Regions from separate parts of the Homo sapiens genome. Here regions 1, 2 and 3 are each linked to region 4. Evidence: promoter capture Hi-C in 16 types of primary human blood cells and fetal thymus (Javierre and others, 2016). All regions are on one chromosome and are shown on one strand. The core of a region is centred on a gene start or on the middle of the fragment in contact, and the rest is flanking DNA. Distances in the headings are between cores, read along the strand shown. Region 1 holds the start of ST20-MTHFS (ST20-MTHFS readthrough). Region 2 overlaps ST20-MTHFS (ST20-MTHFS readthrough). Region 3 overlaps ST20-MTHFS (ST20-MTHFS readthrough). Region 4 holds the start of TMED3 (transmembrane p24 trafficking protein 3).

The links. The method cuts DNA at HindIII sites, captures the fragments that hold promoters and counts their contacts. A CHiCAGO score of 5 or more calls a contact.
Region 1: the fragment with the promoter of ST20-MTHFS here is called in contact with the fragment with the promoter of TMED3 in region 4 in 12 of 17 cell types (fetal thymus, non-activated CD4 T cells, naive CD8 T cells and 9 more); the score reaches 17.6 in fetal thymus.
Region 2: a fragment that was not itself captured here is called in contact with the fragment with the promoter of TMED3 in region 4 in 1 of 17 cell types (naive CD8 T cells); the score reaches 5.4 in naive CD8 T cells.
Region 3: a fragment that was not itself captured here is called in contact with the fragment with the promoter of TMED3 in region 4 in 1 of 17 cell types (megakaryocytes); the score reaches 7.9 in megakaryocytes.

The regions. Positions count from the first base shown.
Region 1 is chr15:79,921,193-79,924,553 of GRCh38, forward strand. ST20-MTHFS (ST20-MTHFS readthrough) reads right to left here and starts at 1,900. Exons shown (of 4, transcript NM_001199760.2): 1 at 1,847-1,900. ST20 (suppressor of tumorigenicity 20) reads right to left here and starts at 2,560. Exons shown (of 3, transcript NR_037653.2): 1 at 2,260-2,560. It overlaps ST20-AS1 (ST20 antisense RNA 1), which reads left to right and starts at 1,579. Exons shown (of 1, transcript NR_028330.1): 1 at 1,579-3,361. RefSeq lists silencers at 1,718-1,827, 1,848-1,917, 1,928-1,977, 2,598-2,747 and enhancers at 2,278-2,457, 2,888-2,937, 3,139-3,361. The HindIII fragment of the contact is 4,343 bases long and covers 1,416-3,361 here.
Region 2 is chr15:79,899,485-79,902,447 of GRCh38, forward strand. The region is part of intron 2 of ST20-MTHFS (ST20-MTHFS readthrough); the gene reads right to left. The region is part of intron 2 of ST20 (suppressor of tumorigenicity 20); the gene reads right to left. Among named protein-coding and RNA genes, the nearest start is that of MTHFS, 4.0 kb to the left of the region's middle. RefSeq lists a silencer at 2,724-2,773. The HindIII fragment of the contact is 4,190 bases long and covers 1-2,963 here.
Region 3 is chr15:79,861,045-79,864,331 of GRCh38, forward strand. The region is part of intron 3 of ST20-MTHFS (ST20-MTHFS readthrough); the gene reads right to left. The region is part of intron 2 of MTHFS (methenyltetrahydrofolate synthetase); the gene reads right to left. Among named protein-coding and RNA genes, the nearest start is that of MTHFS, 34 kb to the right of the region's middle. The HindIII fragment of the contact is 2,633 bases long and covers 64-2,696 here.
Region 4 is chr15:79,309,124-79,312,433 of GRCh38, forward strand. It overlaps TMED3 (transmembrane p24 trafficking protein 3), which reads left to right and starts at 1,989. Exons shown (of 3, transcript NM_007364.4): 1 at 1,989-2,294. The coding sequence starts at 2,127. RefSeq lists silencers at 1,833-1,882, 2,093-2,162. The HindIII fragment of the contact is 2,251 bases long and covers 894-3,144 here.

The DNA.
Region 1 (3,361 bases), core at 650-3,149, 610 kb after region 4:
TGGGAGGCTGGGGCAGAAGAATTGCTTGAACCTGGGAGGCGGAGGTTGCAGTGAGCTGAGATCATGCCACTGCACTCCAGCCAGGGCAACAGAGCGAGACTCCGTCTCAAAAAAAAAAAAAAATAGTAAATAAAAAATAAAGGTTTGTCACCATATACTCAAGAGTACTTCTGTTATTCAAATCTCCTAACTGGGAGTTACAAATATCTCTGACTCTGCTCTTGTAGCTGTCAGAGCATAAAATGCCCTTCCCACTCTTTCCTCACTTCCAGACTCCAAAGCCTCCTCCTCAAAGTTTGGCCCCTCTACTTTGGACTACTGTTTTCTTCCCAGTTACTGCGCACTGACAGTACTTTTGTTCTCTCTTTCGGCAATTCACCATACACTTTCTAGTTTATTTATCTGCATAAAACTTAGTTCTCAACAAGACTATAACTGCCTTATGAACAGGAATCAACAGTTGAGAATCTTCAGAGTCTCCTATAACATCATGTAAGAGCTCACTAAATGTTTGATTTAAATAACTAGGCTTAAGAGTAATAGGCTGGGCATGGTGGCTCATGCCTGTAATCCCAGCTCTTTGGAAGGCCGAGGCGGGAGGATCACGAGGTCAGATCGAGGCCATCCTGGCTAACACGGTGAAACCCGTCTCTTCTAAAAATACGAAAACAAAAAATTAGCAGGGAGTGGTGGCCAGTGCCTGTAGTCCCAACTACTCGGGAGGCTGAGGCAGGAGAACGGTGTGAACCCAGGAGGCGGAGCTTGCAGTAAGCCAAGATCTCAACAGTGCTAAATGCATACATGGATTATCTTACTAAATTTTCATAACTCTATAGAGGTAAGTGCTATCATTATTTTCTCCATCATAGAGGAAGAAAGTGAAGCTCAGAATAACTTGCTCAAGGTCATACAGGCCTGGGCAAACCCAGGGCCTGAATCCAGCAAAGCTCTTAACTACCTCAGAACACTGCACAGTTCGAGCCCTGCAATACTACAGTCTATGAATGATTTCGATTTCACTAAGTTAGAAATTTGAATTTCAACAGAGACATTTTAGCTAAAAGGTAAAATTTTAAAGAGGATGAATTAAGAGAATTTCCCACAGACATCTTTATAATAAAATGAGGAGAAAAGCCTCCCATTTCCTATTTATGAAAGTGATATTAAGGTGTGTGTCACAATTTCATCAAGAAGTGGCTTATGACAATACAGCTTTGGTTTAGGTATTAAAATAGGACTCTTTTCTGCCCATAGGAGGACATGGAAATGAAGGATAGATGTGATAAATGTCAATTCAGAGCTCTGCAAAATGCCAGACTCAATTCTTGTTTTAAAATATCAGAGCCAGGGCTCTTGTTTCACCCTTGATTCTTCACACAAAACACCACCATCCTCTGACCTCTTCACACAGAGCAAGCTTTACCCCACTACCTAAAGGGGAGTGCTGATCCACATGGTCTCCCCATCCACGCTAGAAATTGATCCCAAACACCAACCGCTGCATAGACGTCGGCGACTTTGGTCTGCACCCCCCGAACTTGGTGATACCTCATCAAGCCAAACCCCTCCCCAACATCCAAAATGCCCAGACCAGCATCCGAAAGCTGGTCTCCTATACAAAGCAGAATCCCTGCCTACAAAGCAGTTTCCCACCTCCGACTCCTCCCCACGGCGAACAGCCCTTCTGGATCCAACCAACCCACCAACCCCAATAGGGCCCAGCACCCAGAGGGTCCACAATCCAGAGAAGGAGCTACAAGCCCTGTACTTGCAAGCCTCGAACCCCCAACTCCAACTGACCTCCCCTCTGCCAGAGCAAGACCACGAGTACCCGCCGAGAGCGGACCTGGCTGGCTACACAAAGCCAGGCGCCCGACCAGAGGGATCCTCCGGGACGTCCTCCGCCACCGGGGCGTCCCCGCCCAGCCCCGCCCGGCGCCCGGCGCTCACCAGCTCTCCTCCCCCTCCTCCTAGCCTGACAGACGCTCCAGGTCGTCTAGCAAGCCGCCCTCCCCCGCCGCCAGCAAGAAGGTGGCGTCTCGCAGCTCCTCGTTATTCGTCCGCCTCGGGTCCATCCGGCCCCGCCGCCCGACTTTGCGCTGAGACCCAAGGGGAAGCCCCGAGGGGACCCCGCGCCGTAGGAGGGAGTGGAGGAGCCGGCGAACCGCGATGGAGCCGGGGCCCAGCACAGCGCGAGCGGCTCCTCGGCTGTTCGTGCTGCTTCCCCAGCTTCTTCACCGGCACCTGCAGCTTCCGCACCTCCTGGTCCGCGTTCACGTTAGAGTTAACGTCCTCCATCCCGGCCCCGCTGCCTCCGCCGCCCGCGGCCCTCTCGCTCTCGCAGCAACAAGGGAAGAGCCGGAGGAAAGAGGCGTCCACGCCGCTCACTCCAGCCGAGGCCCCCGCATATAGCAGGGCCAGGCCCCGTCGCCAGGGTTCCCCCAGCGCGGGTCCCGAAGCACCGCTGGCCACAGATGAACCGCCTCCTCAGCGCAGGTCCGGGATTCGGGGAGGCAGCGCCAATATCCGGTCTCTGCAGCCATCTTCCCTCCGTCCCTCCGCCCACCGAGGGTCGGCCCTGTAGGTGACCTCAGAGCGTCGGGGATGGGCGTGGCCCCGTCGGGCGCTAAGAAGACCTAGCGCAGAGAGGACCGCCGAGCTCCCGACGGGGCGGGGCCAGGTGTGTGAGGGGCGGGGATTGGACCCGGAGGGGCGTGTCTGGACTGCCGGCGGAAGTGGAACGCGGCCTGACCTGCGACGGAAAGCCACTGCAAGCCCGGAGGCGAACAGAAGGCATTCCGCGAGCCGGGCTGAGTTGGTGAACACGGTCCTCGTTCACCCCGCCTATTGGTCTGGGCGTGTGGGGTATTCTCCACCCACTTATACGGCGTGTGGGACCGACGGGCCCGTCCTGCCCGGCTCCGGTCCGGATCTCGAGTAGGCGCTCAATGGGATTCGGGGAGACGTAGTTTACTTTGTTCAGCAAATATTTAACCGATGCCTATTTTAATGGGAGATTGTTTCCGCTGGCGGGAGCCTCAGAGACCGCCTGTGTCCTTTAAGAAACCCGAATTTCAGACAGTTAAGAGAGGTCTAAGGTCAAAATAATAATCATAATTTCTTCTTACTGGCCAGATACTATGCTAAGCCCTTTTTAATTTTATTATTATTATATTTTGTCACCGAGGCTGGAGTGCAATGGCCCGATCTTGGCTCTGCAACCTCCGCCTCCCGGTTTAAAGCGATTCTCCTGCCTCAGCCTCCCGAGTAACTGGGATTACAGGCGGGCGCCACCACGCCTCGCTGATTTTTGTATTTTAGTAGAGACGGGGTTTCGCCATTTTGGCCAGGCTGGTCTCGA
Region 2 (2,963 bases), core at 464-2,963, 590 kb after region 4:
TAGTGAACAGCAAGCACAGCTCTAGAGGATAAAAAGTCTTTTTGTTCTTGTTCTTGTTTAATTGTCCAACATTGATTTCAATGCACTTATATTTGTAATATGAATTCTATTATACTGTAAACTGCATTGTATTGAAACTCATGAGAACTCACAGTAAATCCAAATTAAACCAATACCTTTGAAGCTATGAAAAGGTTGATGGTTTCTTTTATAATCTACTCTCTTTGTGATCGGACATAGTTTTAAAAATGTAGGATAACCCAATTAACTGGACATTTTATTTAATTTACAATCTATAATCATAGAATCCTCACTGAAAAGTCCCTCTGAGATCATCTAGCCTAATGCTCTCTCTTAACAAATGAGGAAAGTGAGGCCCACAAAAAAAATCAGTTATCTAAGATTAGCCAAACCCTTGGTGCCTGGACCTGGATTAGAATGCAAATACCCTACTTCTTTCCACTCCATACATTTCCAAACAAGTGCCAAAATATTCGAAAATTGTTAAAATAATTTTTTCGAATGTTCATCTAGCAAACATTTGTGGCTGCATCTTACAGGTTCCAGAACCTGGGGTTACAAATGCCTGCAAGTAGCTCAGAGCAAAGTGTAACTAATATTGAAACGTAAACCAAGCATAACCCTTTGATAGTTGGGAGAGATTCGAGAGCTCTGCGGTGCCTTGGAATCATTTTATGAACATCACTGGCAAAGCAGATGAATACCACCAGCCAGGGGGATTTCATTTGAAAGACTTAGAAAGCCATTTTCTGCCTACGTAAGTGTGCGTCGTGCTCTGAGACATGCTGTCATGCCTTGACAGAGGAAGGAAACTGCCCCTCTTCTTCCTCTTTCCCTTCTGCCAGTACATACTCATAGATTACACTCTAGGGAGGTATCCACTTCATTACGCCCCTTCCTAAACACCATATTTCGCAAGTATGATGAGACCCTCTGAAATGACTTTTATTATAACGATAATCATTGTCTATTATCATTGATCAGTTAACATGTCATATACATCAACGTCTAAAGAAAGGACAGTGAACAAAGAAAATATTGATAAATTCAGCCAGATGAAGATTAAAAATTTTTTTAACTATGAAAAACTAAAAAGAACAATAAACTAGGAAAATATTTACATATACCATGAAAGTGTTCATTCAAATGTGAGAGAAAATTCTCAGGCCCTTAATAGTTTAAAAAGGAGAGACCATTAAACAGAGAAATATAAATCATTCACAAGTATATGAGAAAAACATTAATAGCAGTTAAAGAAATGTACATTTTAACAAAGTCTTATTTTTTTTAGACCTATTAAAGTGGCTTTATTTGATGCCTATTAAACCCTCAAAATTATTAATAGTACCACCCACACTGATAAGGTTGCTATGATATTGTTCTATTGATATAATACTTTCGAAAAGAAAATATGTTTTCCAGTATGCTAGAATATCGTAATTATACACACATCTTATGAACCAGTTACTCCACTGTTAGAAATTTATCATGAGGCAGTCTTCTAAAATATTGGAAGGTAGGGGGCACCAGAAAAGCATACCTATGCTTCACTACTGAACCATTATATCTAAAAGGGGAAAACCAGGCTGGGCGAAGTGGCTCAGAACTATAAACCCAGCACTTTGGGAGGCTGAGGTGGGGAGATCACTTGAGGTCAGGAGTTCGAGACCAGCCTGGCCAATGTGGTGAAACTCTGTCTCTACTAAAAATTCAAAAATTAGCTGGGTGTGGTGGTACATGCCTGTAATCCCAGCTACTGAGGAGGCTGAGGCAGGAGAATTGCTTGAACCTGGGAGGTGAAGGTTGCAGTGAGCCAAGATCAAGCCACTGCACTACAGCCTGGATGACAGAGTGAGACTCTGTCTCAAAAAATAAATAAATAAATAAAAGGGGGAAAATCAAAACCAAATTGTCTAACAATTGGGAATTGGTTAAGTAAATTATGATATGGCAAATTAATGAACTATTCTGTAGACATTAGAAATTAATGCCTAATGTTAACATGGAGTATGTGAGACAGTGTTGAAAATATTTGTATGTCACACCAAAAAACTCTTATGTACACCCTAATTATAATTGCATACAATGTCTGCATGTGGATATGTTAGGGTGATGGGAGTGACTTTTCTTCCTTTCAAAAATGTTATTTTCAAATATATTTTCTTTAATGATGCTATTTGTATCTTAAGACCATTATATAAAAATAAATATACAAATAAGGATTCAATATCCTATCAGTAATGCAGTAGTAAATAAGAATTGTTCAGGCCTTATTATTTCTGGGAACAGTGATAGTTTGTTAAATTCAGCTACCTTGGTTTCAACAAAACCTAAAGCATAAAATAATATACAGTATCAGTAATCTAAAGAAAATCAGAACCTCAGAATTTTTAAAGATACAGGCAGCCAGGCACAGTGGCTCATGCCTGTAATCCTAGCACTTTGGGAGGCTGGGTTGGTAGAATTGTTTGAGCCTGGTAAGTCAAGGCTGCAGTGGGCCATGATCACACCACTGTACTCCAGCCTGGGTGGCAGTGCAAGACTTTGTATGGGGAAAAAAAAAAAAGATACAGGCAAGTATCATGCTTTCTCACTTCTCTAAAGACTATTCCTTTGTTCACTCAGGAAATATTCACTGAGCATTGGCCACATGCCAGTATCAGTTAAAGTACTGGAAACACAGTGGTGAACAAAGCATACAGGATCCGTGTCCTCACTAAGCTCACATTCTCATGGCAGACACAGACAATAAACAGATAAGCAAATAAATATGCAATGGGATGTCCAGTCATGAAAACTATTATGAAGGCAATAAAGTTGGGCAGGGAGACAGAGAGTGATAGTGGTACTTTCTTAGATGGGTTGATCAAGGAAGACTTCTCTGAGGAGAAGAATTCCTTGGAAGGGATACCTGGGCGAAAAGAAGAGGGAAGGCAGGCGAA
Region 3 (3,287 bases), core at 130-2,629, 550 kb after region 4:
GTGGAATAGTCATCGTCGTCATCATCATCATCAAGCACTTATATGCACTGGCATTGTACTAAAAGCTTTATGTAAATTTCCTATTTAATCTTCAAAACAATCTAGTGAAGCAGATATTATTACCCTCATTTTCAAATGATCAGAGGCTTAGGTGAAGGGGTTTACTCATGTCCACTCAGCTAGTATGCAGCAGTCAGTAACTAGACTCAACTCCACCTAAGACCAAAACCTTGATCCTAACCACTCCTTATCCATCGTCCCCCTCCATACACCTGTCTTCCCCAACAAAATGTGAACTCCTATGGCCAGACACCACTGCCCCTTATTTATCTTTTTGTTTCCAGGGCATCACATGGAGGCTACCACACAACTGGTAGTCATTAATGCACGTTCATTTGTTATTTCGGCCATTCACTCACTCAGGGAGAGGTCAACATACTCTCATGTGTTGGTGATGAGTACGTAAAGTGGCATAACCTTTTTTAGTAAGCAATACAGAAACACCTATAAAAATTTAGAATTCATAGCCATTTCATGGATAGATGTTGATCCCATGGACTTACTTGCATAACTATGCAGAAAAATATCTATCAGGATGTTCTTTTTTATTTTTATTTGTAATACCTAAAAAACAGAAGCAACCCAAATAGCTATCAACAGAAGACTGGTTAAATAACTTAGAGCACATCAATGCTATGTAACCACTTAAAACACTATGCTAAATCTATATGTGTTGCTATGAAAAGAGTTCTATGGTTTATCAACAAGTGAAAAAGTAGGATGCAAAACAAAATGTGAACTCCGATCCTATCTGTATAAATTTTTTAAAAGGATACAAATATATATATCTAGAAGGATACACAAGTATGTTAACAGTGGTCACATCTGGGGAACAGGCTGGGAAGAAGAGGGGTGGGACTTTTTCTTTCATACCCTTCTAAACCATTTAAATTATTTACCATGTGATTAGTTAGATGGCATGTAATTACTTTTATGAATGAATGAATTGTTGCTCTACTGTTTGGCTTTTTTTTTTCCTTTTTGTTGTTTCTAACACCAACATAGACTAAGATGAAGTACAGTTAACTTGGGTTGGCCAAGACGGCTAACTGAATCAATCCTCTCATATCCCTGTTTTTCATTCAAAGACTATGTCCTTATCTCAAATATTTGGCAGCTTGCACATAAATATGCCTCCTTCCCACCCCCAAAAAACTAACTAACACACCCTATAAGTAACATCAACCTTTCCCTCAAATTTTATTTGTTAAACCTTCAAAGGGTACATGAGAGAGGCAAGTCTTACCTGGGGTCAGCCAATTAAATCTGCTTTTTATCTACGGTTTATCACTAACTGAACATACAGCTCAAAGTACAAAGTTAATTACTACTTTTGCAAGGAGAAACTGAAAATGCTGATGGGTGAGCAGCAGGACAATTCTTGTATTTCTAATGTCTTACTCTCATTGATCATATCAGCCCTCACAGAAGACTATCTTGCCTAAAGTTACCATTCCTCATTCCAGCATCCCTTTATCATTTTATCCTGTCCTTTCTACAGCAAAAAGAGGTATTAAAAAAACTATCTTTACCTGCAGTCTCTTAATTCTAGCAAATTAATATCCATTTCTATATATATGAAGATTCTGCTGTTTTCTCCTTTTAGCTAACCCCTTCCAAATTTATATTTATAGTTTCTCTCTACTTTTATAAATTATACTAGGCTACAAAATAGTTTCAAAAACATTTCACCTAGAAAACCTCATCTAGAAAGGCAAATTGATCTTGGTCCATCTACATTTGCCATGGCCTCATCACCTAGCCACTAAGATCCCTGTTTGTAATATCAGGGCACACCCCAAGACCATACTCTGGCAAGTCCTGAATCAATATCTCCTATGTCCTGACCTCCAGAGCTATATATCCAACTAGCCATCTACCAGCATTTCTGGGAGGTCCTGGAGCCACCTCAAACGGGATTCACTATGTGTCCCCCAACCCCCTACATCTCCTCTCTCTTCTGCATTCTTTGCCTAGGTTAAGAGCATGACATGCAGATGGCAAAGCCAGACTGTCCCTCAACAGCCTCAAGTGGCCTGGAGACTCTACATGCTGCATATGTCAGAACTTGTTCTATCCTCTCCATTTCTAAAAGTGGTCATCATTTCTCATCCATTCGAATCCATCAGATTCCCAAGGGATGGTCCACTCCCAGTTTCTTTGGCTGTCCCTTGGGACAGCCTGTCCTCCTTATTTCTGGCAGAACAACCTTTCCCAAACATAGAACTAGTCATGTTACTCCTATGATTAAAGTCTTTCAATAACTAACTCCCAGCACCTACAAAATAAAGTTCAAATCCCAGATGTGTGACATACAATACCCTTCACAACGTGGGCCTCCAGCCTCAGCTCAGGCCATGACACCAACTGAAATCACAACCTGCCTTGAGCTGAATGCAGCAGAGGCTGCTGGTTGCCCATCTGGACATCATTCTCTCTTTCTCCTTAGTAGCAGAAAACTTTACTCAGGAGGCCATGAATCCCACCGCAACACCACATTTCTCACCTTCCCTGGTAGTTATGTATGACCTTGTGCCTAAGTTCTGACAAATGGGACTTTCAAGGTGAAGGATGCTCTTTTTCTCCCAACACCCTCTCTTTCCTCCTGCTGACTACAATTCAGAGTTGATAGCCGAAGCTTGAGATACCAGGCAGGACCATATGGCATATGCGGCAGGATCTGTCCCTAATGACTGTGGGGCCTGTACAACAGCCACAGACTATAAATACAACTCCCAGACTTCTTTTCCAAGCATCTCACTGATATTTTGAAGTTTTCACTGATACTTTGGAGTTTTCTGCTACATGCAGCCGAATCTGATTCTAACTGATAACCTGAGCATGCCCTCCTTTTACTCGCCTCCACAGCACATGACGGCAGTAAGGAAAGGCACCGTGTGCCATCCCACAAACAGCATGCCTTCGGGGAAAGCAGACCTGGCAGGAAGACCTGGCTCTGCCTTTTGACTGTGGCATGCCCATAAATAATGCTCTGAGACTTACTTTCTGCAACTGTGAAAATGAGATAATAACATAGTCATGATGAGTAATAAGCTTACATATGTAAGAGCACTTAGCATAAGGCTTAGCACTTAGTAGACAAAGGGTAGCTACTAATAATTTACCCATGTCACTGTCTCTGTACAAAAAGTCCTTGGGGCCAGGTACGGTGGCTCACACCTGTAATCCCAGCACTCTGGGAGGCTGAGGTGGGCGAAATACCAGAG
Region 4 (3,310 bases), core at 739-3,238:
CAGCCAACAGCCTGCATGCTCTGACTAGAGCTTCTTCAATGTCAGCTCCTCCCCTGAACTTATGCAGGTGTTTTCTTGGAACTTAAATGTAAGACTTAACATTTAATCCGGAGGAATTTATTTTGATTTTTAGAGATGGGGTCTCCCTTTGTCATCCATGCTGGAGTGCAGTAGTGCAATCACAGTTCACTGTAGCCTCAGACACCTGGTGTCAAGCAATCCTCCCACCTCAGCATCCCAAGTAGCTGGGACTACAGACCCACACCACCATGCCTGGTTAATTTTTGTTTGTTTGTTTTTGTAGAAACGAGGTTTCACTATGTTGCCCAGGCTAGATTCGAACTCCTGGCTTCAAACAATCCTCCTGCCTCAGCCTCCCCAAATACTGGGATACAGGCATGAGCTATGGTGCCCAGCCCGAAATTTCTTTTTGTTAGTCTTAGCAGAGCACTCCACCTGTGCCAGGGCAATCGTGTTTTTTTTTTGTTTGTTTGTTTTGTTTTTTTGAGACGCAGTCTTGCTCTGTCGCCAGGTTGCAAACTCCACCTCCCAGGTTCAAGCAATACCCCTGCCTCCCTGCCTCAGCCTCCCGAGTAGCTGGGACTACAGGCACGCACCACCACCCCCAGCTAATTTTTGTATTTTTAGTCGAGAAGGGGTTTCACCACATTGGCCAGGATGATCTCGATCTCTTGACCTCGTGATCCACCCGCCTCAGCCTCCCAAAGTGCTGGGATTACAGGCGTGAGCCACCACTCCCGGCCAATTGTGGTTTTATATCTGTCATTTATTTCTCCACTTAGTTCATCTAGATCAGATGATTATTACTTCCATGTTTTCTATCAGTTCCTAAAAAAAAAAAAAACGTGAAATAGGACCGTGCCAGGGAAGGAAGCTTAAGGGACACTACTAAACACCTCTTCCATGCCTGTCACTGAGCCAGTCAATATTATTAACTATGTTATGCATGCATGTTATTTCCAAGCCTACAGATTGCTTTCACACATTAGCGTGTTCATCCATAGTGAATGTGGCCAGCGGAAATCTATATGGGCAGTAACATTCTTTCCTGAAGTCAAGATATACCACGTCTAGTAATGCTCTCCTGAATAAGTTATTTATTGAGTATCGACATCACAATCTACGTCTTTTCTCTTTGTTTATTGGATCACAGTGAATATAAAACTATACCTATAGTTACGATTATACAAAAGAATCTTAAGTCAGTGGTCATGGGTAAGACAGTAAACCAATTTATCTGCTTTCAGAGCTTTTAAGAAGTCAAAGTGCAAAAATGACAGTTTTGTGCAAAAAGAATTTTCAACGAGCCTGACAGCCAAAATATACCTGAAGTCGCTGCGAGACTTTACTTGGATTTTCATGAGATCGTTTGTGTGTGAGCACGCTCGTGTTTTTCCCAGAGCAGGTGTAATGATGGGTCTTTACTTACTCTCCCCACTCCCCACCCCCTTCGCACACTCTTTCACCTTGGGAAGGGTATGGGAATGAAGAAAGGAGTGTTAATCGGGTTCCCAGCGTTCCCTTATCTTTCACCTAGCTCCCTAACTACTGTGGATGTTAGGTTTGGGCACACCCATTTCAAGACAAGGAGACTGGTTCTCGAGGGAAGTGTGAGACTGAAGTTACAGAGCCTGTCAAAAGCGGAGCCTTATAGAGGGAGTAAAATCCCACGTGCTTCGTGCTGCAGCAGCTGGAGGGTGGACCTGGGTCGACCTGGGGGGATGCTCAGCCCTGCGGGTCCGGGAGCGCGCAGAACAGCGGGGAGGGCTTCTCCCTCTTCTGGGTAGGGGCGCGCTAGGTGGAGCCCCACCTCCCCTCCGCGGAGACCCACCCTCCGAGCCGGGAGAGGCGTTGCGGGGGGGTGGGGGGGGCGTGTCCCCTGGCGCAGCGCGGCCAGCGCGCACGCGCAGCGGGCGGAAGGTGCCCGGGCCCACTTTGAGCGCGCGGCTGCGCACTGAGCCGCCGGCCCTCCCGGAAGCGCAGAGCTCCGCTGGTGCCACGTCTATCCCCTTACATCCTCCTAGGACCCGGTCGGTAGTCGTCGCCCCAGCCCGCCGGGGGCGCAGCGCCCGAGCCGCGGCCCTCGAGACGGGACCGAGAGCATCATGGGCAGCACTGTCCCGCGCTCCGCCTCCGTGCTGCTTCTGCTGCTGCTCCTGCGCCGGGCCGAGCAGCCCTGCGGGGCCGAGCTCACCTTCGAGCTGCCGGACAACGCCAAGCAGTGCTTCCACGAGGAGGTGGAGCAGGGCGTGAAGTTCTCCCTGGATTACCAGGTGAGGCCGGGCGCCCGGCAGCGCTCCCTTCTCCCTCCACTCCCAGGTCTCACCTGGACACTGGCTAGCCCCTGACTGGAGGCGCTCGAATTAGCCACAGGCTACAGGGAGGCTGCATGGGGTGGGAGTCCCCGGAGACCAGTTGACTTCCCCGTGAGGAGGAAGGTTTGGGTCATCAGGGCCCACCCGAGACGAGCCTGGCCAGCGAGGAGGTAGTCAGCGCCGCAGGTGCGAGCCCGGGATGGGGACGCCAGGGCGGATCCCGCAGCCTGGGGAGCTGGCCAAAGAGATATCCGCAGGCCCCCGAGACACTAACCAACGGCAGTTCTGATCGGCTGGACACAGGCTCTCTAACCCCAGTCTCTTAGACCACCTTGTGCCTTCGAGTACTGAAAAATGGCAGCAAGAGGAAGTGGGCTCATAGTTTTAGTTTATTCCTCCCCTCTCCAGCGTTTAAAGTTGGAGTGAGGTGAGGGCAGCAGAAGTGAGAATGGGCACTTTGGAAAGGAGGGATCAGTGCAGCCATTGAGGCCTGGCGGTGTTTACAAGGAGCGGTGTGGCTGCAAGACTTGGCTCTTGCCATATGGCTTAGAAAAGCTCAGTTCCTGTATTCCTGTCTCCTTTGAGAGATCCCGTGGCCCACAGGTGACAGGAGCAGGTCTTGAGTGAGTAGTCTGCCCCGATATTTAGTGAGCAGGTCTAGGGTTGGGGGCCAAGTGGGCATCATACTCAGACAGCTATCTGCTTGTGGACGCATGCTGATAGGCACTTCAGAAATGAGGGGCCACGGGCAGCAGGAATGGGGGCAAGCTATTTGACCAGTTCCTCTGTGGTTAGAGGCACTGAAGGAAGCTTGCGCTTGGAGACAACTTCTATGTGGTAGTCTCAGTCACTGATTTGTCCACTTTCAGGTCTTTGTGGACAACATGCAAATTGTGACTGGGTTAACATGGGCAACCTAGGTGCAATGACAAAAAGAATGATAATTCTGTGGTTGCAGGGACCTCAGATGTCAT